Regions from separate parts of the Homo sapiens genome. Here regions 1, 3, 4, 5 and 6 are each linked to region 2. The links are contacts of gene promoters, found by promoter capture Hi-C in blood cells and fetal thymus (Javierre and others, 2016). All regions are on one chromosome and are shown on one strand. Each heading gives the region's core, a stretch centred on a gene start or on the middle of the fragment in contact. The rest is flanking DNA. Distances are from core to core; before and after follow the strand shown. Region 1 has its middle 6.1 kb from the start of RPS14. Region 2 holds the start of G3BP1 (G3BP stress granule assembly factor 1). Region 3 overlaps RBM22 (RNA binding motif protein 22). Region 4 overlaps HMGXB3 (HMG-box containing 3). Region 5 overlaps SLC26A2 (solute carrier family 26 member 2). Region 6 overlaps DCTN4 (dynactin subunit 4).

Region 1 (4,270 bases), core at 1,353-3,852, 1.3 Mb before region 2:
AAGGGGTGGGGTGGGTGGCTGAATTAAACAGAGAGGGCCAGGCAGCCTTGCTGAGGAGTGATTTGAGCAGAGCTGTGAGGTGGTGAAGGGGTGGCCTGCCCCTCCACACCTGTGGGTGTTTCTCGTCAGGTGGGATGAGAGACTGAGAAAAGAAAGAGACACAGAGACAAAGTATAGAGAAAGAGTGCCAGGGGACTGGCGCTCAGCATATGGAGGGCCCACGATGACACCGGTCTCTGAGTTCCTTCAGTATTTATTGATCATTATCTCTACCATCTTGGAGAGAGGGATGTGGCAGGACAATAGGGTAATAGTGGGGAGAGGGTCAGCAGGAAAACGTGTGAACAAATGTCTCTGTGTCATAAACAAGGTTAAGAAAAAGGTGCTGTGCTTTGATGTGCACATACATAAACATCTCGGTGCATTAAAGAGCAGTATTGCCGCCAGCATGTCTCACCTCCAGCCCTAAGGCGGTTTTCTCCTATCTCAGTAGATGAAATATACAATTGCGTTTTACAACGAGACATTCCATTGCCCAGGGACGAGCAGGAAACAGATGCCTTCCTCTTACCTCAACTGCAAAGAGGCCTTCCTCTTTTACTAATCCTCCTCAGCACAGACCCTTTACGGGTATCAGGCTGGGGGACGGTCAGGTCTTTCCCTTCCCACAAGGCCATATTTCAGACTATCACATGGGGAGAACTTGGACAATATCTGGCTTTCCTAGGCAGAGGTCCCTGCAGCCTTCCGCAGTGTTTTGTGTCCCTGGGTACTTGAGATTAGGGATTGATGATGACTTTCAAGAAGCATGCTGCCTTCAAGCATTTGTTTAACAAAGCACATCCTGCATAGCCCTAAATCCATTAAACCTTGAGTCGACACAGCACATGTTTCTGCGAGCACAGGGTTGGGGGTAGGGTTACAGATTAATAGCATCTCAAGGCAGAAAAATTTTTCTTAGTACAGAACAAAATGGAGTCTCTTATGTCTACTTCTTTCTACACAGACACAGTAATGGTCTGATCTCTCTTTTCCCCACAAGGTGGGAGAGGGAGCCAGCCTTGCAGGTATCTAAGGGAAGATGGTTATGGGCAGAGGGAGCAGTATGTGCAAAGCCTAGAGGCGGGAGTATGACTGGCATGTTCTAGCAACAGCAAGGAGGCCAGGGTGGCTGGTATGGGGTGAGCCAGGGCAGGCAGGTGAGGAGATGTGACGAGAGGTCACTGGGGGTGGAGAGAGATTGTGTAGACCATGTAGGCCTTAGAGTTCATTGGCTTTTACTGAGTGGAGCCACTGGAAGGTTTTAAGCAGAGGGTGACAGAACTGACTTCTGTTTTAATAGGTGCACTCTGGGTGCTCTGTGGGGTGGGGTGAGGGGCAAAAGTAGAAGCAGGGATGACGGTTAGGAGGCTTTTGCAATAAAGCAAGTGAAAGACATTGGTAGCTAAGACGGAGGAGGCATCAGTAGAGGTAGAAAGAAGTCGCTAATATTTGGTTTTATTTTGAAAATGGGGTCCGATAGCTTCTCGGCCTTTTGGCTAAGATCAAGTGAAAATGGTGGCCGAGTGCAGTGGCTCACGCCTATAATCCCAGCACTTTGGGAGGCCAAGGTGGGTGGATCAATTGAGGTCAGGAGTTCGAGATCAGCCTAGCTAACATGGCAAAACCCCATCTCTACAAAAAATACAAAAATTATCTGGGCATGGTAGCGCGCACCCATACTCCCAGCTACTCGGGAGGCTGAGGCATGAGAATCGCTGGAACCCAGGAGGCAGAGATTGAAATCGTACCACTGCACTCCAGCCTGGGTGACAGAGTGAGACTCTGTCTCAAAAAAAAAAAAAAAAAAAAAGAAAAAGAAAAGAAAATGAGAAAATGGATCCAACAGGATTTACTGATAGATTAAACTAGACATGGGGCATGGGAAAAGAGTGTTGTCAAAGATGATTCTAGCATTTATGGCTGGAGGAACCAGAAGGATGGAGTTGCCCTCAGCTGGGGTAGGGAAGGCAGAGGGTGGAGGAGGTTTTTAGGGGAAGATCAGATGCCCACTCGTAGGCCTGAGTTTGAGCTGTTTATTACATACCCGAGTGGAGCTGTCAGAATGACAGCTGAGATAGATGAATCTGGAATTGAGAAGTGGATCAGGGCTGGAGGTGTAAATTTGGGAGTCTCCAGCATACAGATGGTATTTAAAATCACAAGACTGATTTTAATCACGAGTCCCGCCAAGGGGCTGAGTGTAGATAAAGAAGAGGCTAAGGACTGAGCGTTGAGAGCATGGGGATAAGAGAAGGAGAGAGCCAAGAAAATAAGCCATGAACAGAAATGAAAGGAGACCAGGAGAGGGCACATCCAGAAGGCAACTGGAGAAATGCAATCAAGCAGAAGGGAGTGTGCACCTGTGCCATCGCGCTTAGAGGTCAAGGATAACAAGGGCTAAGGATGACCGTTGGATGTAGCAACATGAAATACTGGGGACTTTGACAACAGCAGCTTGATTGGGGGGCTGGGTGGGGGGAGTGCAAAAGTGTGAATGGAGTAAGAGAGGGAGGTCCACACCTCTTGGACAGCTCTTTCCAATATTTATTTATTTATTTATTTATTTATTTATTTATTTTAAGATAGAGTCCCTCTCTGTTACCAGGCTGGAGTGCAGTGGTGTGATCTCAGCTCACTGCAATCTCCACCTCCTGGGTTCAAGTAATTCCCGTGCCTCAGCCTCCTGAGTAGCTGGGATTACAGGCACACGCCACCACACCCAGCTAATTTTTGTATTTTTAGTAGAGAAGGGGTTTCACCATGTTGGCCAGGATGGTCTCAATTTCTTGACCTCATGATCTGCCCACCTTGGCCTCCCAAAGTGCTGGGATTACAGGTGTGAGCCAGCATGCCTGGCCCAATTATTATTATTTTTTTAATTTTTAAAATTTTGTTATTTTTGAGACAGAGTCTCACTCTGTTGCCCAGGCTTGAGTGCAACCTCTGCCTCCCAGGTTCAAGCGATTTTCATGCCTCAGCCTCCGTATAGCTGGGATTAGAGGTTTGCACCACACACCTGGCTAATTTTTGTATTTTTAGTAGAGATGAGGTTTCACCATGTTGGCCAGGCTGGTCTCGAATTCCTGACCTCAAGTGATTCGCCCGCCTCGGCCTCCCAAAGTGCTAGGATTACAGGCATGAGCCACCGTGCCTGGCCCTCATTTTTCTTTAAATACTGAGTCTCCCTAAGTTGCCCAGGTTGGTCTTGACCTCCTGGGCTCAAGTGGTCCTCCCACCTCGGCCTTCCAAAATGCTGGGATTACAGGTGTGAGCCACCATGCCCAGTTCCTTCATAGACAGCTCTTGAGTTTTTCTGCAGAGGTGTGCCAGGGGGCAGATGGAGAATGGGAATGTGAGATCAAGAGGTTCTTTTTTTTCCTTTTTTAAGGTTGCATCAATAACAGATATTTTAACACTGCTGGGAATAGTCTAGAAGTGAAGGAAAAACATGCTGGAGCCCTGACATTGAGCAGGCAATAGGTAAAGGCCTCTGCTGCGCATGTGGAGGCATCGGCTTTAGGCAGGAATGTGGACAGCTCACCTCAGGTGCTAATGAGGAAGGAAGACGGTGGGGGCAAATGTGGCAGCAGGAGCTGGAGAAAGTTCTCATTCCGGAAGTGGAAAGCAAGCAGCTTCCTCTCAACAACCACAGGAGGTAGAAAATGTTTAATCCCCCCCGTTATAACTGAGGACACAAGGAAAAGGTCAACAGCTCTAAGTGGGGCACCAGGATCTGGGCCCAAGCAGTCTGACTCCAGAGCCCAATTCGTGTAACCTCAGGTACAGGTGTTTTGTAAATATCTGTTGATTGGATGAAGGAAGAGCAAGGAATTAGCCTGCAGCAGCAGAAGCCAAGCCCTTTCCTGGGTCCTCAAGCTCAACCTGGAAGGCCCCGTGCTCCCCATTCTCGGCAGCAGCTCATACTGTCATTTGTCCAGGAGCTCTATCCCCTCCTCCCCTTGAAGGGTAGTTTGCAAATGCAACAGAGGAAGGGTGGGAAGAAGCTGTGGCTCAGAGAGGGTGAGTTTGCTCACCAGGACACACAGCCAGGAATCAGACACCAACTGTGGCCCAGGTGGTCCTGGGACTTGGAGGGAGGACCTTCTCAAAAGTGTTGGCTGCTGTGAAGCTGTCGTGGAGTCATGGGTCTATTGCTGGTCTGAGCCCCAGAACACACATGAGCGCTAGTCTGCGTGTGTAAGTGTGGCACACAAGGGAGAGCGGCGGT
Region 2 (4,774 bases), core at 1,279-3,778:
CACCTCAGCCTCCCAAAGTGCCGGGATTACAGGCGTGTGCCACCACATCCGGCTAGTTTTTGAATTTGTTTTGTAGAGACGGGGTTTCGCATGTTGCTCAGGCTGGTCGCGCAAACTCCTGACCTCAGGTGATCCACCCACCTCGTCCTCCCAAAATGCTGGGATTACATGCGTGAGCTACCGCGCCCGGCATGCTGCATAATATTCTATATTACGTGTATATCACTGTTAAAACAGCTTATCAATTGATGAACATTAAGTGTTCGGGTTTTAAATCTTCTAGCAATGCTGACAAAGCTGCAGTGAAAGTCTTGGCACATGCCTTTGTAAACAAATGTGGCTATCAACCAAGTGACATTATTGTTTTGGGGGATATGCACAATTTTATTAGATTTTTAAATTGCTGCTGGGCGCGGTGGCTCACGCCTGTTAATCTCAGCACTTTGCGAGGTCGAGGCAGGTGGATCACCTGAGGTCAGGAGTTCGAGACCAGCCTGGCCAACATGGTGAAACCCCGTCTCTACTAAAAATACAAAAAAATTAGCAGATCCTGGTGGCGCGCGCCTGTAATCCCAGCTACTAGGGAGGCTGAGGCAGGAGAATCGCTTGAACTCAGGAAGGCGGAGGTTGCAGTGAGCCGAGATCACGGCATTCCACTCCAGCCAGGGCGACAGAACGACGCTCCGTCTCAAAAAAAAAAAAAAAATTGCTTGGCAAAAAGATCTGTATCACTTAAAACTCCCTCCAAAAGTGAAGGGTAGCCATGTCCCTCATCGCGAGTCACCTGGGTTAAATTACTAATCTGTAAATGTTAAATTTCGCCAATCTTCTTAGTGTTTCAATTCGGAGAGTCATGTTGTGAAATGCCAATCTCTTAGTCCACCTTTTAAAAAACTTTGCAGGGGTTCTCCAAGGCCCTCAGAATAAAGTCCAGATTCCTTTGCAGAGCTAACAGGATACAGGAGACTCCCTGCTCCAGGAAACTTCTAGGGGCTTCTCTCCTGGGGCCTGTTCCCTGGTTTTGGGAGCGCTCGGGCGACCGCGAGCCAGAGCAGCGTCTCGCTCATCTCGGACCCAGGCCTGGGGCTCCACTGACGCCGACGGAGCCGGGCTGCTGCGGGAGTGGAGCCCTGGGGGACCAGAAGGGGCTTTCACTTCGCTCCTGGGCCTCCCGAGTTCCAGGCTCGGGCTAGCCCCGCGCAGGGAGGCGAGCGGGCCCGGCTCCCCAGAGGCCGAGGCCGGCGCCCGTGCTCCTTCAGCTCGGCCTCTCTCCCCCGACATAGGCGCTCCACATGCTTCATTTCCAAAATTCTCAGCAAAACTCCGCGGGAGACCCTGGTCACATGCCTGGAACGAGAACAAACCGGGGCGTGTCTGTGCCGGACGGCTGGGAACCAAAGCTATTTCCATAGAAATAGGGCCGGCCAGCCTTGAGTTGTAGCCCCGCCAGTGCCTGAAACGCCAGGAGGAGGGGACGAGTTGCCTTTTAAAGGCGTAGCGACGAGAATAAGCCCCCACCCGCGGCAATTCGAGGCTGAACAATAGTGGTGCAGCTCGGGACGTGGTGCGAGGGCCCACACTCCACTGGAGCACGCGCGGACCACCGTGCCTCAGCTGCCACAAAGGGAGCCTCGCCACACGCCCGCGGCCGCCTCGCAGCGCCCGCCAAGAAGCGCCTGGCGGAAGGGCGCACTCTCAGGCCTTCCACCGGCGACCTTCCGGCGGGAGCCTGCGGGCGGCGCAGGAACGACCCTCCTTCCTCTGCCCCGCAGCAGTGCTGAGTAATGGTGAGAGCAGCAAGGCCCTTGGCCGCCGCACGTAAGAAAAAAGTTGTAATAAAAAGAAAACAACCCGGGAAACTTTACTAGTTGGTTCGCCAGGTACAAACCTATGCGGAAAAGGCGGGGTACAGGCCTCGGAGGCCGGACCCAACCAGTCAGGGAAAGAAAGAGGGCAGAAGCCGCAGGCTGCACAGCCTCACAACCGCCCAGAGGGCACGGCGGCCCTGGGGCTCGGTCTCTTCCGAGCAGAGCAACCTCCGTGTCTATCAGCTCCTTCCGGCGTTGCGATTGGCCACAGGCTGTCTTGGCCTCTCGGACGCCCGCCTCCTAGTTGCTAGGGGTTTACTTCCCCAAAGTACACGGGCCCCACCTTGTGGCGCAACCGCTCCTGCATGGAAAACGGATCTCCGCCCAGGGGAAGACGTGTTAACGAATAAGAGCAGCCCCACACATTTATTGGCTACTTTGAGTATCAGTCAAAGAACTGCTCACTCGCCTTTCTATTGTACTTTTCGGTTATTGGTCTCTCTTAGTGCCGATCTGTTACTAGGGAAACGAGATCCTCACAGTCTCATAGGCAGGAGTCAAAGCCAATCAAGAGCCACGCCTTCATCCCCGAGTCAGTGCCCAATTACTGTTCGAAGAGCCCTGAGGACGCGGTCGGGATTGGTCATCCCGTCGCCCGACCTGGCCGCAACAAGTTAGGGTGAGTGGCAGTTATATAGACCGGCGGCGGAGCACGCGTGTGTGCGGACGCAGTTGCGTGAGGGGTTTGTACTATCCTCGGTGCTGTGGTGCAGAGCTAGTTCCTCTCCAGCTCAGCCGCGTAGGTACGCCGGGGTGTGGGCGGGGCAGGGAGGCCAGAGGACTAAGCCGAGCCGCAGCACTTGTGAGAGGGAGAAGTCTGAGTGGCGCTCGCGGCGGCCGCGCCAGTCGCGTCCCCCACCCCAACCCCCACCCCAACGGCCGCAGGCGCGCGCGGCGGACGGACGGGCGCGCGGCGGCTCCTCGCTCCCGCTCCCGTCCCGGCTGGGGCGCGTGGCCGTGTCCGCCGCGTGCGCGTGCTGCGTCCAACGGCCTCGCGGGGCAGGAGTAAGCCGCGGCCGCCGCCTGGGCCCCAGGGCGGTCTCTGGGGCCAGGGGTCCCGCGCCCAGCGTTTCCCGCCCGCCACCCTCTCCGCCACGCGCCCGCGGCACCTTTTCCTCCCCTGGCCAAGGGATCCAGTCGGTTCGGACCAGAAGGAGGCTTTCGTTTAGGGTGGGGGCAGCACTAAAGTCTGATTGGAGTCTTGCGGTCCGCGCGTCGCAGAAGCGCCTTCGGTTTTGCAGAGAGCAAAGAGGGAGCAGCGAGTGCACGGAGTGGTAGTAACAACCAATGTTCTTTCCACGCCCTCACTGTGTGTCCGGCACTGTGCGGAGCCACTTTTCTGCCTTTCATTTGATTCTTGCAGTGAGCTGGCGAGGTGGGTACGGCTATCCTCCTTCCTTAGCGGCCCAAGGCACGGGTTTGGAGAGCGGGGTCACAGGCACGCACGGGAAGGGCGGGGATTTGTTGACGCCGGGCCCTCTGACTCCGAGCTCCCCGCTTCCCAAGCCTGTTTTTAGTCTTTGCCCCCAGAGCACTTGTCCCTCGGGGCAGCATCAGCCTCAAAAGGCCACCTGCCGAGAAGGCTGCAGCGGCATTTGTACTTGGGCTAGTTCTGGGCTTCCAGGGAGACAAGGGTTGGAAGTGGGAATGTGACAAAGGAAAAGGGTTTGGGCTTCCTTTCTACGTGTACTTGTACAGGCCCTGGGTAGATGTGCCGCCACCGTAGCTTCTGGAAAAAAGTAGGGAAAACGATGAGTAAGTGCAAATGAACATGGACTGTGTTCCTCATCGGGTTTGAATCTCAGATTGCTGATGGGAAATTCCCGCCAGCGGGAAGTTAGGCTCCGGTTTTAGACGTTGAATTTTTTTTTCTCTACTTTTTTTTTAATTGGAGGAGACTTTTGCAGAAAGACCTTGAGAAGATTCACTTTATAGTTGAAGGGAATGAGGTGCAAAGCGACGAATTTAAGATCTCACTAGCATCTGTGGGTTAAAATACGGAATTGGAATAGAAAGGTTGGCGCCCAGTTACAGTATACTATTTGGACCTCTGTGGAGCGTGTCATGCTGGATGAATTACTGGTGTTGGAGATGTGTTGGAAAAAACAACTGTGACAGTCGAGATCTGTGGATGAAAGTTTGTGTACACTCCGTTTATTTAGCATTTACTCTGCTGGGTTCTTGTGTATATGCAGAAACAAGATGCTTTTCTTCAGGGACTGGAGCTTATATTTTTCTAGTAGTTACCATCTTTTAGATTATTTAAAAGCCAACATACTCCTTGGCTTAGTGAAATAAATCTTCTATGTTATAGAAACACTTCTATAAACATAAAGATTTCTATAATCGTGTTCTGGAAACCCTTTCTATAAACATGTTTCTATAACAGTATTATAATAATGTTCCAAGTAACATTTACTTGGAACTTTGCTGGTGTGGCGATTCCGGTTACTTGCCCTTACAGACTGGTTAACTATGGAATTAGCATTTTAACTTAGACTTAAAGTTGAGCAATTTAAGTTGTCAAATGGAAAAACACTAGAATGACCTACATTTAAACTGTTTAAGCTTGAGTCCAGCTAATTTTATTACTGCTTGAGGCAAAATAGAATGAAATTACCTTACACATTATTGAGGGAAAATTTCGTTAGTTTCTACTTAAAATATTAAAAAAATACAGTTCTTGGCCTCAGGCAAATGGTTATCACTTGGGCAGGAACATGAAAATTACGTGATTATTTCACAAACTGGTGCTCTAACTGATTACTTGTGCATTTATCAGGAACAAGTGAATTGAAGCAAATTGTGGTAATGTAAGGCTTGGCAAGGCTGCCCTACATCCCTACCAAGTCATACGTCAGTTTTGTTGGAGCTGCTTACCGGTACAAAAGTCTAAGCTTTTGTAC
Region 3 (4,533 bases), core at 878-3,377, 1.1 Mb before region 2:
CCCAAACAGCTGGGACTACAGGCACATGCCACCACACCCGGCTAATTTTTTTGATTTCTTAGTAGAGATGTGGTCTCACTATGTTGCTCAGGCTGGTCTCAAACTCCTCGGTTCAAGAGATCCTCCCAAAGTGTTGAGATTACAGGCATGAGGCACTGTGCCCAGCCACATAAGCACATTATTACTGTGGCACCATAAAGGACAATTTTACAAAAATTCCAGTCAGCATGATACTAACAATAGAGAGACTACAGAAAAATGTATTTTGTACAGAATGATCATTCTTGCAGTTTTTGCAAATAAATTATTCCAGGGCAGTTAAAGGCAAAAATAACTCTCTAACTTATACCCACAAACCTTAAATCTGTCTCAGTAATGGTATCACCTAGACCACCAACATATAGTGTGGTGATAGTTTTATCCTCTGGTGGGTCCAGCCGAGGCATTGTTGAAGCCCGCTTTAGAAGCTTGTCAGCTACAGGATCATTGATTCCGTAATAACGGTCTTTAATATTCTGATCAGCAAGGGGGTCATCTGGATCTGTAGGCTTCTCATGTCTATGATTCAAGAAAAAAACAAGGCATAAAGGTGAAACGAAGGTGAAAAAATGATTATCTTCCAAGAGTAGCTACATATTAAAGTCCTAGATACATATTCTGAAGTGCCTTTTGAACTAGAAACTATGGTTTCTACCAAAATATAATTACCAAAATAGACCTAATACCAAGAGATTTACTGTATCACGGAAGGAATTACTAGCCTCCTAAAAGCCATTAGGCCATCTAGGATGCCAAACTTTCCTTATAAATAAATACTCTTGACATGATCCACCCCCTCCCGCCCCCCAGAAAGGGACACATGATTACCCCTCTCTAGGTCAATGATTCTTAACACATTTGGGGTGCTGTATTCCACTGAGAATCTGATTAAAGCTATGAACCTCGCCCCAGAGAAAGCACATACATTATTTTTTAGGGGGTGGGGTTAACCAATCCCAAATTAAGAACTCCTAATCCAGATGCTTGGCAGTCTTAACCAAAACATACACACCCTTTAGAAGTCTGACCTTACTTTGACTTCAACTATACATTGAGAGTCAACTCATTTAAACCATGGCAGTGAAGATTTACTTCTCAGGCAGAAATGTTTAGGGTCAGCATCTATATTGTATGGCATAGCAATTTAGTTTCCAAGGCTCAATTGTAAGTAAAAACTACAATTTATTCATGCTCTTCTAAATTTCATAGTTCTAAGACATGAGGTATACCACATTAGTTGTATGACCTTTAGATTTTAAAGCAGAAACAGTTTAAGTTAGGACCTCCCACTTCTTAGATGAGAAATCATCTGAAAGCAAATACTGAAAATGAGGCTCGCTCTTGCCTGTATGGACATTCCTCTCCTCTCTTACACTCTCCTTTCACCCAGAAGGAGCAAATGTGGGGTCGATTCCTTTTGTAGTAGGGTGTGGTCCGGGCCAGTTTGAGCAGCATGTCACTGGTAGATGTGGCTTTCCCCAGCATGCCAACTGGCCGTGTTCCATCAGAGTTAGAAATCTAAGTGGGGATGACAAATTCAAAAGATAAATTATACAGACTGTGTCAATTCATTAGGATTTTTATCCAAAAAGTGGCAGCATACCTCTCTCTCCATATTCTGTGTATAGTACTCTTTGTTGACATCTGACTTTGGCATGTCATCTTTAAAAGACAATCCTGCGTCACGAACCTGGATGGGCAGGCCTGGTACAAAAAAAGAGGAAAAAGACCTCAGATGTATTTTAAAACATATCCATACTAACCATGCACACAGAATACATCATCTTTCCCTTCTCCTCTTTCCTATTTAGTACCAGAGACTTTACTATGTTTTTATTCAAACTCTTTAGCACCATCAGGTTACTTCTGCTACACAGCATGCTAAGAAATTGTCCAAATTCCTGAACTGTCAGGAAATTTGATGAAATTAATGCTTTAGAAAAAATCTTTTAGGCTGGGTGTGGTGGCTCATGCCTGTAATCCTAGCACTTTGCAAGGCTGGAGCTGACAGATAGCTTGAGTCCAGGAGTTCGAGACCAGCCTGGTCAACGTGGTGAAACCCCATTTCTACAAAAAATACAAAAATTAGCTGGGTGTGGTGGTATGCACCTGTAGTCCTAGCTACCCAGGAGGCTGAGGTGGATCACCTGAGCTTGGAAAGGTTAAGGCTGCAGTGAGCCATGACCATGCCACTGCACTCCAGCCTGGGCAACAGAGTGACACCCTGTCTCAAAAACAAAAAACAAAAAAATTATAAAAGAAAATTTTTAGATGAACAAACTGTGCCCATGGTCATATTCAACCTGTAAATTAGCTCCTAGTTTTTATTACAACATGATTTATTTAAAGTAAATGTAAAAGTGGTTTCTTTCTAGGTTAGTCTTACAGATCCTCTGGATAGTCACAGTCATCTAAGGGTCACTGTACTCCAGGACCAGACGCCTCCTTAACAAACATATAAATAATATTACATAAAATGTGGCCAGGACTCTGACTAGAAGAGTAACTCTAATGAACTTAACATACATAAACTCATATATTTTTCCCTTTCCTTTAATAGTAAAAACTCTTGTTGAAAAATTATCTTTCTGAAAAACAGTCACCTATGGTTAAAAAAAAAATTACTCCCAAAAGCAGTTACTCTGAAACAGTAGCAATATATCAGTTCTAACAACACAATTGAAATAAAAGTCTAAAGCACAATTAGGCTGGCTATAGTGGCTCTGGGAGGCCAAGGTGGGAGGACTGCTTGAGGCCAGAAGCTCAAAACCAGCCTGGGCAAAATAGTGACACACACACACACGTGCACTGGGTGTGGTGGTATACCAGGAGGCAGAGGCAAGAGGATCCCTTGAGCCCAGGAGTTCGAAGTTGCAGTGAGCTGTGATCACACCACTGTACTCTAGCCTGGGTGTCAGAGTGAGACCCTAACTCAAAAAATAAAATAAAATAAAGCACAATTACCCTGTGAGCTTCTGATTGGGATGGTGGAAAAAAGCTCTGGATCAAGAAAGAAGCCTAAGGCAAATAAATTATCTATCATAGGATCAACGCCTTTTACCTCACTTGGGCTACAGAGATGAAGGTTTAGGCCACTTTTGATTAATTCCCAACTTTTCCTTAAGTTCCTACTATTGTTCAGGACTCTAGAGTGGCCTAATTATGGTTCTTTTCCTGGGAAAAGCAGACCACGGCAGACATTCCAAAGTGAAATCAGAACCAGAGCTAGGGTGCGAAGTGGGAGACAAAAGACTGACTTGTAGTTTTAGGCACCTGCACACTTTCAGATTTATTGGACAGGTCAAACATACCATACTCTAGGTCTAAGAGGCAGGTCTGACAGACATTCTTCAATTTACTGCAGGTTTGGCACACTTCAGTCTTCTTGAAACGCATGCGGACTCCAGGGCACCAGCGAAACACTGTGAATGGCCTGGCACAGATCTGGAACACAAAGCAAGAGCCATAGAATGTCAATGGTCCTGATCTGGGCAATCTGGAGATCTGATAACAACGGGGCATTCAAAAAAGGATCCCTGAATGTAGGATTTAGAAGAGACCTTAGCAATCATCTAGTTGATTTGATGTTTCAATACAATTTTCAGCATCCTTCTCCAGCAAAAATTCAGAGTACAGAAATGAAATAGCCAAAGGGTCAAAGTTCTTCCCATCCTAGAGCTAAGCACCAATAATAATCTGAACCTTAATCTTTTTTAGGGGGAGTGGGGAGTGTCATGTAATTTTTTGAGAAGCTTCTGACAAGAATGACCTTCCTCCTCAGCTAAAATGCTCGAGTGGACAGTCATACACCACCTGGTGTACAAACTCCTCCAGTGCCCATCCACTGACACCGTAAGAATCTCTACATTAGAGGGTTCATTTTCTTACCTCCCACATAAACAGTTGCCAGCCAATGAATATATCAGTAATACATAAAAAGTTGTATAGCACTGATTTTTACTGGAAGACCTCAAAACTTAGTAAGCTGAAGGCTAATTTGGTAGAGAAAAGAAAAATGAAACAGAAATCATTACTCTTTAACAGACATACTTACTTTGCATTCCTTCCCATACTTTTCTTTGGTCTATAATAGAAAAAAAATAGAAAAGAACTGGAGTTACAGAAAGAAAAAAGCCAGATGTCTACTCTTTCCTTAAACATAACCCAAGAAATGTGTCTGGAAATCCCTGGCATCCTAGAGAGAGAAAAACAGCAACAACAAAACCCAAAACCCAACCTTTTTTGGGAAGAGGGTAGGGAACATACTATAACAACATATTATAAGTGATAACATCTCAAGAGTATATGGATCTGGGCTGGGTGGCAGTGGCTCACGCCTGTAATCCCAACACTTTGAGAGGCCAAGGTGGAAGGATTGCTTGAGCCCAGGAGTTCCAGACTAGCCTGGGCAACATAGCGAGATGCTGTCTCTACAGAAAAAAGAAATAGAGTATATGCATCTAATGCTAGGTAAGTGAGTGTCTTTCCACAGCC
Region 4 (4,255 bases), core at 1,302-3,801, 1.8 Mb before region 2:
TATTGACCTTAACTCTGTTTTACAGATGAAATAACGGAGACTTAGGGTAAGTAGATTGCTTAAGGTCAGAGGTCCCCGTGCTGGTGCGACTGGTGTAGTCTGTACTAGAACCCGGATTTTCTGTCCTCTAGAGCCCTTCGTTTTTAACCTTAAATTGTCCTGCCTTTTTTTGCATTGCTATACTGCTGCCTCGAGTCTGATAACAAACTTGTACTCAGGCTTAGAACAGGGTAATAAAACAAACAAAACCGTAGGGTGTTGTCTTCCTGCCCTCAGCCCAAGGTGGCTGTAATGAGTGTTTCCTAACCCGTTTTGCGCAGGGTGCTTAGTACCCTATATGCCATTCATTACAGATGCTCTCCTGCAGTTACTGCCCTTCTCCACAAGGCTTTCAGCCGCCCAGAAGTCAATTCAGGGCAAAAAAGCGCAGTCCCCACGTAGCCTTGATTTGAACTACTGCTTCCCTTATCCTTTACTGGCCTATTGCTTACCCAGCCAAGTTGTAGACTGTGTTCTCTTCCTGGGTTGCACTATGGCAGTTAGAATGTAGGTTTTTGTTTTGTTTTTCTTTGTTAGTTTAGTTTTTGTTTTTAATAGGAAGAGGAATCATTTAGAGATGACAGAGAACTAGGAAGAACCTAAGGAATAATGTGTGCTTTACCTGGGGTATATCCTGAAAATTATAGGTGAAATACAGTGTGTCTGCAATTTCTAGGAGAGGTTTTTTGTTGTTGTAGTTGTTTGTTTTTTTAAGCTTTCGCAACATTGTCAAAAGAATTCTTGCCTCCAAAAGACTAGGAGCCACTGGGTTCATCCTTTTCTCACAGTAGAAACAGTTGAAATTTAGGATGTGGAATAGACTTCTCTGAGATCATAAGGTTAGAGTTTAGGTCTCTTGACTCCACATGCAGTGCTCATTATACCTTATTTGTGGAGTGAGGTCTAAATGAGAGGTGTGTGGGCTTTGTACTGCACGTATCAGTCCCATATTTACCACCACAACTGCCTCTTCCCAGAATTCTAAATTTCCTCCTGACAGATTTTCAGGGGCAACTATGTTATTTCCTCTTGTAAAATTCAAGTGGTTTCTGTGAGCCTTTCTCCCTCCAAGGATTGAGACTTGTGGTAAAAGTCCAATTTAGAACTTGGCTACAAAAAAAACTAACTCTTCTTGAACTGGTTATTAAGTTTTTTATGCCTCTTTTCCTAGACATAAAAGCTGTTAGTAGATTCTCTGTTTTTTAGCCCAGCACCAGAGAGCTGATGTTGGTTGGTCAGATGACTGTTTAGATCTGTGCTGTCTCTAGCTCCTAGCATATGTTGCTATTTCAGTTAATTACAATTGGCCAGGTGTGGTGGTGGCTCATGCCTGTAATCCCAGCACTTTGGGAGGCCAAGGCAGGAGGATTGCTTGAGCCTAGGAGTTTGAGACCAGCTTGGATAATATAATGAGATCTCATCTCTACAAACAATTTAAAAATTTGCCAGACTTGGTGGTGCACATGTGTAGTCCCAGCTACTTGGGAGGCCAAGGTGGGAAGATCACTTGAGCCTGGGAGGTGGAGACTGCAGTGAGACAGGATCTCATCACTGCACTGCAGCCCAGGGGACAGAGTGAGACCTTGTCTTAAAAATAAATAAATTTAAAAATAAAACTAATTCAATTCTTCAGTCACACTAGCCATATTTCAAGTGCTCGATAGCCATATGTGGCTGGTGGCTACTATATTTGACAGCACAGATGTAGAACATTTCCATCATCAGAGTTTATTGAACAGTGCTGGTTTGGAGGGTTGCCAGTAGAGATGGATAGCAGTGTAGCATAATGAAAGAAGGCCCAGGGAGTTGGATTTTTGAGTTAAAAATCTATCTCTCAAGTCCCTGCTTGGGCTTGGTGGCCTTGGGAAGGTTGTTAAGCATCTCAGACACAGATAATAGTCTTTAACAGAGGCTAGATGTGGTGGCTCACGCTTGTAATTACAGCACTTTGGGAGGCTGAGGTAAGAGGATCGCTTGAGCCCAGGAGTTCAAGACCAGCCTGGACAACATAGCGAGATTTCATCTCTATTATTATTTTTTAAATTATATAAAATTAAAAAAAAAACTTAATGAACTCTTCCATTTTTTTTTCTGCCAATTACCTGACTTTAGGAATGAACCCAGCAGGGCACAGTGTAATCCCACTCATGCCTGTAATACCAACAGTTTGAGAGGCCAAGGTGGGCAGATCGCCCGAGTCCAGGATTTTGAGACCAGCCTGGCCAACATGGCAAAACCCTATCTCTCCAAAAAATTAGCCAGGCGTGATGACATCACCTGTAGTCCCAGCTACTCAGGAGGCTGAGGTGGAAGGATTGCTGAGCCCAGGAGGTCAAGACTGTAGTGAGCCCAGAGTGTGCCACTGTTCTCTAGTGACAGAGTGAGACCCTGTCTCAAAAAACAAAAACAAAAAACCCAAAAACAAACCCTTTTCATTTGCATAGCACTTGACTATTTTCTTTTTTTTTTTTTAATTAAAAAAGATTTTTATTTTTTTAATAGAGATGGGGTCTCACTATGTTGACCAAGCTGGCTGGCCTCAAACTCCTGGCCTCAAGCAACCCTCCCATCTCAGCCTCCCAAAGTGCTGAGATTATAGGCGTGAGTCACTGCGCCCATCCAATTATTTTTAAATAGAGTTGTGTCTATTGTATCCTTTGAGTCTTATCACTATAAATCTGTGGGAAGGTAGTTGAGACATGTCTTTTTTTATACATGAGAGAGAAAGCTGAACAAAAAGCAGCTAAAAGACCTGACCAAAATTGCACAAGCTGGCAGAGTATAAAGAAATCTTTTACATACAGGCCCTTACTACATGTTTGAGTGAATCAATGAAGGGATTTGCTTAAGTTGATGAAACATAGGAGGAATGGGCCAGAACTTCTGATTCCTGGCCAAGCATTTTTTTTTAACCTGTTTCCATATAGAATTGTTATAATTTGGGGCTAATAAATCTTTGTGTTAAAGGGGTGGGTGGGTACTGTATCCCATGAATATAAGTGAAAAGTATTTCTAAGGCAGTGGTCACAAACTTGCCCGGTCTGAGGAATCACCTGAGGCATTTGTTAAGCATGTGGATTTCCATACCCTCGGGAGATTCTGCTCCAGGAGGGCTGAAGTGGAGCTCTGGAATCTTGTGTGTTAAACAACCAAGCCAGGTGCTTCTTAGGATATATTGGGTTTGGGAAATGTCTAAGCCTTAAGGCACTGGCAGAGGTAAGGGGTTATTTGATCAGGAAGCTGCTGCCCCTCTTAGGGGAGATTCTGGAAACTTTATTTTGACTTTCCTTTCCTTTAGCCATGGACGCATCATATGATGGTACTGAGGTAACTGTCGTGATGGAGGAAATTGAGGAAGCCTATTGTTACACCTCTCCTGGGCCACCCAAGAAGAAGAAAAAGTATAAAATACATGGAGAAAAGACAAAGAAACCCAGGTTAGCCAACACATTTTGGTTGCTGCTAGCATTTATAAACAGAAGTTGCTTGGAGAGCTGCATTGAGGAAAACTTTTAAGACTCTTTGAAAAAGAGTGTTATGATTGAAGTCCTGTGTCGAGGGATGAGGAGTGGGAAGTGGAGGGATTTCTGCCAGCATTGCCATTACTGGCCAGACTTTGCTTTTGTTTTCAAGTTGTCACAGGAAATTGTACCATACTGATGGTAGAAGCTAGGTACAAAAGAGCTACATTATTTATTATTATGCCATTGTTGTTATTTAAACATTTAAAACAAAGCATTAATAAAATTACAAAATTAGAAATAAGGCTGGGCGTGATGGCTCATGCCTGTAATCCCAGCAGTTTGGAAGGCTGAGACGGGTGGATCACCTGAGGTCAGGAGTTCGAGACCAGCCTGACCAACGTGGAGAAACCCCGTCTCTACTAAAAATACAAAATTAGCCGGGCGTGGTGGCGCACACCTGTAATCCCAGCTGCTTGGGAGGCTGAGGCAAGAGAATCACTTGAATCTGGGAGGCGGAGGTTGCGGTGAGCCAAGATTGTGCCATTGCACTACAGCTTGGCCAACAAGAACGAAACTCCTCTCAAAAAAAAAAAAAAAAGAAAAGAAAAAGAAAAAAAACACACAAAAAGAAATAATACCAATTATATCTGTACAGAATATCCAAATTGTAGCTCTAACTTCACTCTTGACTGTGAATACCTCAAACTTGTGAAACTACCAGCATTGGTCATTTTGATTGGTCTGCTTGCTTC
Region 5 (4,501 bases), core at 498-2,997, 1.8 Mb before region 2:
CAGAACTTAAATTGCCTTCCGGCGCCCATTCTAGTTAACCTGTCTTTTCTCCTTGTCCCCAACAGTTCTTTATGTGAAATCTACAACTAATGTGATATGCAATACTAGATTAAGCAGAACTTTTTGTTTTTGAAAATTGAATCAATAAGAAATGGAGGGCCAAAGCTGTGGGAAAGGAATGGACCCTTTAAAATCAGGAATCTCAAGGCAGGATATAGCAAGGGACAGAGACTAATAGCTGTCGTTTATTGAGTAAATGCTATGTGCCAGGCACTGTGGTAGGTAGTTGTGTTAGCCTTACAAACCAGCAAGTTAGGTAATGTTACCCCATTTTACAGGTCAGAAATTGATGCTGAGTACAGTGAAGTTTTACAAAACCATTGCCATATGACTGCTGAGCAGTATAGCTGGGATCTGAACAGAGATCTGTTTGACTTCCAGAACACATCCAGTGATTCTCCAAGTGTGGTCCTAAGCTCACTCGTTCAGCATCATCTAGCGTGTGGAGTCCTGGATCTCATCCTTGGATTTGCAGGGATGGTCCTAAGAAGCTAACGGCTCTCTGTATTTGACAATTATTGTACTGTAATGTGCTGCCTCCTAGGGGAAGATCTAGAGGTGAACATACTCTGGGCTAGGGGTAATTTTTGAGGGAAAAAAATCACTTTTTTTTAATTTCTGATTTGACTTTTTTTTTTTTTGAGACCAGGTCTTACTCTGTCATCCGGGCTAGGAGTGCAGGGGCGCGATCTAGGCTCACTGCAGCATTGACCTCGTGGGTTCAAGCAAACCTTCCACCTCAGCTTCCTGAGTAGCTGGAACCACAGGTGCACGCTGCCATACCTGGCTAGTTTTTGTAGTTTTTGTAGAGATGGTGTTTCACCATGTTGCCCAGTCAGGTTTCAAACTCCTGAGCTCAAGCAATCCTCCTGCCTTGGCCTTCCAAAGTGCTGGGATTACAGGCATGAGCCACTGTGCCCTGCCCACACTTTTATTTTTTATTTTCCCCCATGATTGACAGAAGGATAATCACGCTTTTAGTGAATGTAAACCCCCAGGCAGATGCTTGCCAAGCTTAATTTCTTGACATAAGCTTGGTTTTGGCATGTGGGGGCGGAAGAGTGGGGTTGGAGAGTTAAGTGAGAATGGGGAAAGTAACTCCTTTTTCCTTATCATATAGCTGTTAAATTCTAATTCACTCAACAGATACTTGCTAAGCATTTATTAGGTGCAAGACATGTTCAAGACACTGAGAATACAGCTTTGAACAAAACAGAGCAAGTCAGTGCCCTCATGTGAAAGACAATTAACAATGTGTGGTATGGAATGGTGAGAAGAGCTATGGAGAAAAATAAAGGGCATAGGAGTGCAAGGCAGGGCTGGGCCCAGGAGGAAGACATGGAAATGGCAGCAATGGCAGTGGTGCTATATTTATTTATTTATTTATTTATTTATTTATTTATTTATTTTTTGAGATGGAGTTTCACTCTTGTTGCCCAGGCTGGAGTGCGGTGGCGCCATCTTGGCTCACTGCAATCTCTGCCTCCTGGGTTCAAGTGATTCTCCTTTGTCAGCCTCCCAAGTAGCTGGGATTACAGGCACATGCCACCACGCCTGGCTAATTTTTTTTTTTTTCTTTTTTTGAGACAGAGTCTCACTTTGTCTCCAGGCCGGAGTGCAGTGGCGTGATCTTGGCTCACTGCAACCTCTGCCTCCCAGGTTCAGGTGATTCTCCTGCCTCAGCCTCCTGAGTAGCTGGGACCACAGGCATGTGCCACCACGTCCGGCTAATCTTTTTATTTTTAGTAGAGACGGGGTTTCACCATGTTGGCCAGGATGGTCTCAATTTCATGACCTCGTGATCCGCCTGCCTCCGCCTCCCAAAGTACTGGGATTACAAGCGTGAGCCACCGCGCCTGGCCTAATTTTTTGTATTTTTTAGTAGAGAGGGGGTTTCACCATGTTGGCCAGGCTGGTCTCGAACTCCTGGCCTCAGGTGATCCACCTGCCTTGGCCCCCCAAAGTGCTAGGATTACAGGCATGAGCCCCTGCACCCGGCCTGCTATTTTGCATATTTGTTTAACTTTTTTTTTTTTTTTTTTTTTTTTGTGGAGACAAGATCTTGCTATGTTACCCAGGCTGGTCTCGAACTCCTGGCCTCAAAGTGATCTTCCTGCCTTGGCCTCTCAAAGCGCTGGGATTACAGACATGAACCACTGTGCCTGGCCTCTGTTTTATATATTGTATCTAGGAAGGGACCGATTTATATAAGGTGTCATTTGAGGTTGGGCAATGAGCAAAGGCCCCAAGGGCAAAGGCTGCTTGATATTTTCATGGACTGGTGATTGGAACACTAGTGCATAGGAGGAAGCAAGACAGTGGCAGTTTTAGGCTCATGCATAGAAGCTTATACCAATGTTTTTAGACCATATTTGGTAGGAGATAGGGAGCCAGTGCAGATTTTTGGGGAGCATATCCAAATGGTTGACCTCATCTTGCTAATGAATGCTTCTTTTGAAGAAGAGGCATAGTGCTTTAAAAATGTAGGTTCAGGCTGGGCTCTTCCTTTGCTCATGCCTATAATCCCAGCAATTTGGGAGGCCGTGGCAGGCAGATCACTTGAGCTCAGGAGTTCAAGACCAGCCTGGACAACACGGCGAAAACCTGTCTCTACAAAAAATACAAAAAAATAGCTGGGCATGGTGGCGTGCACTTGTGATCCCAGCTACTCAGGATCGCTTGAGCCCAGGAGGTGGAGGTTGCAGTGAGCTGAGATCATGCCACTGCACTCCAGCCTGGGTAACAGAGTGAGACCCCATCTCAAAAATAAAAATAAAAAATAGCCAGGCGTGGTGGCTCACGCCTGTAATCCTAGCACTTTAGGAGGCCGAGGCGGGCGGATCACGAGGTCAGGAGCTCGAGACCATCCTGGCTAACACGGTGAAACTCTGTCTCTACTAAAAATACAAAAAATTAGCCAGGTGTGGTGGCGGGCACCTGTAGTCCCAGCTACTTGGGAGGCTTAGGCAGGAGAATGGCATGAACCCAGGAGGAGGAGCTTGCAGTGAGCCAAGATTGTGCCACTGCACTCCAGCCTGGGCAACAGAGTGAGACTCTGTCTCAAAAATAAAAAATTAAAAAAAAAATGTAGGTTCAATATTAGAGGAAACTGAGTGACCATTATACAGGAACTGTGTACTATTTTTACAGCTTTTCTGCAAGTCCACAGTTATTTCAAAATAAAAATTTTTTTTAAATGTAGGTTCAATAAAGTGTTTAAGGCTGAACTATGCCTGCAACTTTCAAATAGTTGAAAAACAATAATGACAAAACCCATATAAGTATGGAGAGAGAGTGTGTTAACATCTTATGAACTGTAAAATTGCTAAATAGGTGAATTGTTAGTATGGAAGTGTTCCATGTATCATTCTTTCAACTTTTCTGAAGATTTAAAAACAGCTTCAAAATAAGCAATCAAGCGACAGTATACGTTTGAATCAGGCAGGCTTGTTCAAGTCATGATTCCCCTACTTACAAGCTGTGTGTGGCTGGGCGCGGTGGCTCACGCCTGTAATCCCAGCACTTTGGGAGGCCGAGGCAGGCGGATCACAAGGTCTGGAGATGAGACCATCCTGGCCAACATGGTGAAACCCTGTCTCTACTAAAAATACAAAAATTAGCCGGGCATGGTGGCAGGCGCCTGTAGTCCCAGCTACTCAGGTGGCTGAGGCAGGAGAATCGCTTGAACCTGGGAGATGGAGGTTGCAGTGAGCCGAGATCACACCACTGCATTTCAGCCTGGGCAACAGAGCAAGACTCTGTCTCAAAAAAAAAAAAAAAAAAAAAAAGCTGTGTGAAGTATTGGAAAATTATTTCTAAACTACATATTCTAGTCTAGTTTATTTTTATTAAAAATATATTTTTAATTATTTTTTTTTCTTACACTGTAGCTCTTACCAGTCTAGTCTGAGATTTTTCCATATAAGAGAGGAGACTTACTTTGGTTGTTGACTTGTTCACATTAATGCTGGGTTAATGTTAAGACTTCAGGTTTTCCACAAACTTGAGATCTTTAGGTTGTTTTTAGGTCGACTCTAGTTTTCCTGTAATTATCTGATGTATATACACTTACAGAGACTGGCATAGGCAATCTATTAGAGGAAAAAGGTTAGGAGTCAGGATACTTGGGTTCTGGATCCATCTCTGCCTTTAAGTAGCAAATGATTTCACTAATCTGAACCTTTATTTATTTATTTTATTTTATTTTTTGAGACAGAGTCTTGTCTGTCACCTAGGCTAGAGTGCAGTGGCGCAATCTCAACTCACTGCAACCTCTGTCTCCTGGGTTCAAGTGATTCTTGTGCCTCAGCCTCCCAAGTAGCAGGGATTATAGGCATGTGCTACCACGCCTGGCTAATTTTTGGATTTTTAGTAGAGATAGAATTTCACCATGTGGGCCAGGCTGGTCTTGGACTCCTGAGCTCAAGTGATCCGCATGCCT
Region 6 (4,811 bases), core at 714-3,213, 1.0 Mb before region 2:
AGGGATTGGAACTCTCCTAATTTGCTGGGGAGGATCCAAAATTGTTCAGTCACTTTGGAAAACAGTTGGGCATTGGCCAGGTGCAGTGGTTCATGCTTTTAATCCCAGCACTTTGGGAGGCTGAGGCAGGAGAACTGCTAGAGTCCAGGAGTTGGAGACCAGCCTGGGTAACATGGAGAAACCCCATCTCTACTTTAAAAAATAAAAAAAAATAAAAATAGTTTGGCAGCTTCTAGACAAATTAAACATACACTTATCCTATGACCTAATAATTTCACTCTTTGGCACTTAAGAAAAATGAAAACATATATTCACACAAAGAGTTATAGGCAAATGTTCATAGCACCTTTATTCACATAAGCCAAAACCCAAAAACAATCCAAATGTTCAAGTGGAGAATGAATAAACAAACATGTTCATACAACAGAATACTACTCAACAATAAGAAGAAATAATATAAAGAAGAAACACAGATGAACCTCAATAGCATTATGCTAAATAAAAGAAGACAGACAGGAAAGACTGTAATGTAAGACTCCAATTACATACACTTCTAGAAAAGGCAAAATTCTAGTGATAGAAAGCATATCAGTCTAGTCAGGGGCCGGGAGGTTGGGGGAAGAAACTGACTGCAATGGGGCATGAGGATTCTCTAGGGGGACAGAAATGTTGTGTATCATGATTATGGTGGTGGCTATGTGATTACACACTTGTCAAACATCACAGAATTCTACACTTAAAATTGGTAAGCTTTATTATATATAAATTATATATTGGTAAAGCTAGCCAAATAAAGGGAAAAATAAAAGTATAATGAGATACCATTTCACAACCATCAGTCTGGAAAAATTTTAGAGTCCAAAAGTACTAAGAGCTGACAAGGAACTGGAGCTACAGGTAGTTTACTCTTACATATTACTACTAGGAGCAAAGACTGCTAAATCATTTTGGAGTGCTAAGGATGTACACAACTTATGACTGGCAATTTTACTTCTAGTTATATAGAAAAGTCCTTACACTTGTGCCTTAGGAAACACATACAAGATTGCTTCCAGCAGCTATATTTTTTCAAAAGCAAAGAAAATGAAAACAACCTAAATGTTCATTAAGAGAAGACGGAATAAGTAAACTGTGGTGAGTCATACAGGAATCAACTGTGTATCAGAAACATAATGCTGATAGAGTAAAGTTGTAGCAGGATATATACAGTATGTTTTCATTTGCTTAAAAGTGAAAAATGTTATTTGTTTGTGGCTGCATACATATGTGGAGAAGTATAAAGACATGTATGGATGCTAATAAACACTGAATTCAGGATTGTGATTATTATCTCTAGCGGGCAGAGAGGAAGATAAAGTAGGGGGAGGGCTTAAACTGTTTTGGCTGTTTCATTTCTTAAACTGGGTGATAAGTACATGAATATACATATTTCATATAAAATCACTTTTTTCAAAACAAAAAGGACGCAATTACCTTGCTGAAGGTGACATTGTATCCTCTTGCAAGAAATGGCAGAAATAACACTTTAGTATAATATTATTTTAGAAGTTGCCTCACTTAAGGCAATCATGAAAAATAATTATGTGAAAGAAATGTTTCAGCTGTAATATTTTTAAACGTCTGAATATTTTATCTAATTGCTTCTTTTGAACTGGTAATTTATTCTAAGTAGCAATTTGGGAGACATAATAATCTCATTGTAAGTTTTTCTCCGTACATTACAGACAAGTACTTATAAATAAACAAATAGTTCTAACTTAAGTGGTTTCAGGGCTTCTGAGATACCAATGACATCAAGGAGGAAATGAAATTATCTGTACGCTTTAAGAGCTCCTGGTATTCAATTATCCCTGTTGAGATACCCTAGAGGAGATACAGTTCTAGAAGCCAGCATAAGTTTATAGTTCTGAAATATAAATTCTCCAATCTTCATGACTCATAAACCAAAAAGCATAAAACACTCACTAACAGAGTAACAAACTGAGAAATCTACTTGGATTTCCGGGCTGTTTCTTTTACTTGATAAAAAGACACAAAATACAAACATGAAAAAACAATACTTTAGTTCACTGAGGCCTACATTATGCCACTTTGAGGTTGCTTTTTAACATTTAACTTACTTTCTTTAACTTATCTCCTATACTGACACTAAAACATATACACATAAATACTTACTGGCAATTTTCAAAGATGTTACAGAATCTTTCTATTTTCAGTCACACTTCAGGTAAATAGCTACCCACCAATGAGCATTTTTAAGGAACTAAGATATACTTATTTAACTTTCTGTTTTTGAAAAGAGTATGTATTTTATCAACTCAATGTACAAAGTCAGAAAAACCATCAACAGCTCAAAGCATTCTAAACCAAAGAGCAAATTCAATAGAATCAAGGATTAAATTTTTAAGAACATAGTTGAATCTAAAGAACTTCACCCATATTTACTTCCAAATTGTGTAAGAATCTATAGAAAGGTTTTAGCCAGTCTGCTTCATTTTAGTTATGTCAAATGACATATAATGAATTTGTTATGAGCTTCCTCATTTATTAGTCAATAAGCTGTACTTTTTATGAAAATCCCAAAATGAGAATTTTTACAAGTTTAAAATGTTTTTAGAAAATTAAACAATGAAACCTCAGAAAAAAAAATACGGAGTTAGTGATGCTACTACTTATATAAAGCATAAATAGCAACTCAAGATTTTATTAATTTTTTTTAAACTTTGGATCACTTAAATCAAAAGCAACTCAAGATTTTGAACTGACTGTACAGAGAATGTTTCCACTCTATGATGTTAACCATGAAATACAGAATTTGCAAAAATAAAGTTTCGTGATAAAATTAAGTGTAATCTGTTCTAAAACACTCAAACACTCAAATGATGGAGGTATATAATGCCTTAGGTGGTCTTAAATCCAAACATACCAATTTTTCTCTTTCACTGATAAACATTTTATATATATACGTAAAAGTTTTTGAGCACATGTTTGAATGCTCCAGGACAGACATTTGGACATTGAATTACTGGGCAGAAGGATATAAGCAATTTAAAATTTTAATAAATGTTTTAAAATTGGTCTCCAAGATAGACTACCATAGTGTATGAGAGAACTATTCTCCTATGTTCTAGCCAACACTTGATACAACCAGATTAAACATGTTGTACCAAATAGAAGGAAGCTTTAATTTGCATTTACATGACTACTAGGGAAGTCGAATACATCTTTTTGCATATTCATTGACCATTTTTATTTCTACTATGAGAATTGCTGCTCATATCCTTTGCCTGTTTTTCTACTAAGTCTTTTTCTTATTGACTTATAAGCGTTCCTCATTTCTGAGTATTCATCTTTAGCCTGTTATATAAGACCCAACTATTTTTCTTAGTTTGTCATTTTTATCTTTAAAGATTTTTTTTTTTTTTGAGACAGAGTCTTGCTCTGTCACCCAGGCTGGAGTGCAGAGGCCCGATCTCGGCTCACCGCAAGCTCTGCCTCCCAGGTTCACGCCATTCTCCTGCCTCAGCCTCCCGAGTAGCTGGGACTACAGGTGCCCCCACCACGCCCAGCTAATTTTTGTATTTTTTAGTAGAGACGGGGTTTCACTGTGTTAGCCAGGATGGTCTCGATCTCCTGACCTTGTGATCTGCCCGCCTCAACCTCCCAAAGTGCTGGGATTACAGGCGTGAGCCACCGTGCCCGGCCTTATCTTTTAGTTTTATCCATGATGTCTTAACATGAATGTTTATTTTTCATGAAGAGCATTAATATTTTGATTCCAAGAAAGTACCAGATTTATAAAAGCTATTTTATCAAGTCTAAGAAAACTAAATATTATCCCATCTCAGATAAAACACTAAGGTCTACAAATGTGAACATATGGGAACACAGAAGAGTTAATGACAAAATATTCTGAATTTAGCTCCTATCGCCCCAACGGGTTACAGAAATAATAATCTATGGGCAATTATAGCACTGTCAATTGTACAAAATTTCATATTGAAGTCCATCTCACTCACCTACAGATTTGTCTGCCATGCCCACATCTCTAGACGTCCAGCGACAAAATCCACATGCCAGGTAATAGGCTTTCTTCATGGTGGTCTTGGCTGGGTCATCTGGAAGCTGTGTGGAGATGCTCGTGGCCCGAGTAGAGAGGGTGTGCATGCAGCCAGGACAGTCAAAACAATTGGCACATCTGTGACATGACAAACACAACCATTCATTCAACAAATATTTATCAAGGAATTCAAGAGAGAACAAATATAAGGACAAGTGTCTCTCAAGAAAAAACAGTAACATTCTGCAGGCCTCTTACCAACTTTGCTTTAACAGTTCAAGAGTACTATATGTTCATTAGTTTAAAAAATATGCAGTTATCGCCAAAGTAAGAATTAGAGCCCAACCCAATCCTACTCCACAGAGAGAACCATTGTTAACAGATGGAGTTTATGATTCCAGACTCTTTTTATGCTTATATTGATCACAAAGATTTCTGAGGAAGAGAACTGTCACAGCTTATGCCTTTAGAGAGGACAGACCAACTGTGCCATAGAAAACTTAGAGTCAACAATACAAGAAGCTGTGAAACTGGATTTGGAAAATAACCGACTGCTGTGCCAGAGAGCTTCAACAGAAAGCAAACAATGCTATCAAACTGGAATGGTTCAGAAGCAGCATATTTTCAGGGCTTTCTGTTCTCTCCTTAAATGCTACTTTTCCTAGTGCTCAGCCAACATTTCTCCTTTAGGAGGTCCCTATGTCTTCTTGCTTTTAACTCTCCCACCAGCACAGATTATCAAGATTTCACC

What was found. Contacts are between HindIII fragments. The CHiCAGO score rates a contact against its expected background, and 5 or more counts as called.
Region 1: a contact is called between a fragment that was not itself captured here and the fragment with the promoter of G3BP1 in region 2, in 1 of 17 cell types (fetal thymus). The highest score is 8.4, in fetal thymus.
Region 3: a fragment that was not itself captured here is called in contact with the fragment with the promoter of G3BP1 in region 2 in 1 of 17 cell types (fetal thymus); the score reaches 10.6 in fetal thymus.
Region 4: a contact is called between a fragment that was not itself captured here and the fragment with the promoter of G3BP1 in region 2, in 1 of 17 cell types (fetal thymus). The highest score is 5.1, in fetal thymus.
Region 5: a contact is called between a fragment that was not itself captured here and the fragment with the promoter of G3BP1 in region 2, in 1 of 17 cell types (neutrophils). The highest score is 6.8, in neutrophils.
Region 6: a contact is called between a fragment that was not itself captured here and the fragment with the promoter of G3BP1 in region 2, in 1 of 17 cell types (fetal thymus). The highest score is 7.9, in fetal thymus.

The regions. Positions count from the first base shown.
Region 1 is chr5:150,453,678-150,457,947 of GRCh38, forward strand. No RefSeq gene overlaps it. Among named protein-coding and RNA genes, the nearest start is that of RPS14, 6.1 kb to the left of the region's middle. RefSeq lists a silencer at 465-665. The HindIII fragment of the contact is 6,015 bases long and covers 1-4,270 here.
Region 2 is chr5:151,769,426-151,774,199 of GRCh38, forward strand. G3BP1 (G3BP stress granule assembly factor 1) reads left to right here and starts at 2,529. Exons shown (of 12, transcript NM_005754.3): 1 at 2,529-2,611. It overlaps LOC100652758 (a long non-coding RNA gene), which reads right to left and starts at 2,751. Exons shown (of 2, transcript NR_132345.1): 1 at 2,278-2,751; 2 at 368-1,347. RefSeq lists enhancers at 616-1,337, 1,716-1,945, 2,203-2,497 and silencers at 2,706-3,035, 3,086-3,155. The HindIII fragment of the contact is 14,997 bases long and covers 1-4,434 here.
Region 3 is chr5:150,695,149-150,699,681 of GRCh38, forward strand. It overlaps RBM22 (RNA binding motif protein 22), which reads right to left. Exons shown (of 11, transcript NM_018047.3): 3 at 4,094-4,123; 4 at 3,351-3,483; 5 at 1,643-1,743; 6 at 1,385-1,557; 7 at 358-558. Among named protein-coding and RNA genes, the nearest start is that of RBM22, 3.6 kb to the right of the region's middle. The HindIII fragment of the contact is 3,324 bases long and covers 466-3,789 here.
Region 4 is chr5:150,001,514-150,005,768 of GRCh38, forward strand. It overlaps HMGXB3 (HMG-box containing 3), which reads left to right. Exons shown (of 20, transcript NM_014983.3): 2 at 3,338-3,476. The coding sequence starts at 3,340. Among named protein-coding and RNA genes, the nearest start is that of HMGXB3, 2.9 kb to the left of the region's middle. RefSeq lists an enhancer at 41-120. The HindIII fragment of the contact is 3,599 bases long and covers 753-4,255 here.
Region 5 is chr5:149,961,655-149,966,155 of GRCh38, forward strand. All of the region lies in intron 1 of SLC26A2 (solute carrier family 26 member 2), which reads left to right. Among named protein-coding and RNA genes, the nearest start is that of SLC26A2, 3.1 kb to the left of the region's middle. The HindIII fragment of the contact is 1,313 bases long and covers 1,092-2,404 here.
Region 6 is chr5:150,749,460-150,754,270 of GRCh38, forward strand. DCTN4 (dynactin subunit 4) reads right to left here. Exons shown (of 13, transcript NM_016221.4): 3 at 4,020-4,198. Among named protein-coding and RNA genes, the nearest start is that of DCTN4, 7.2 kb to the right of the region's middle. The HindIII fragment of the contact is 2,431 bases long and covers 749-3,179 here.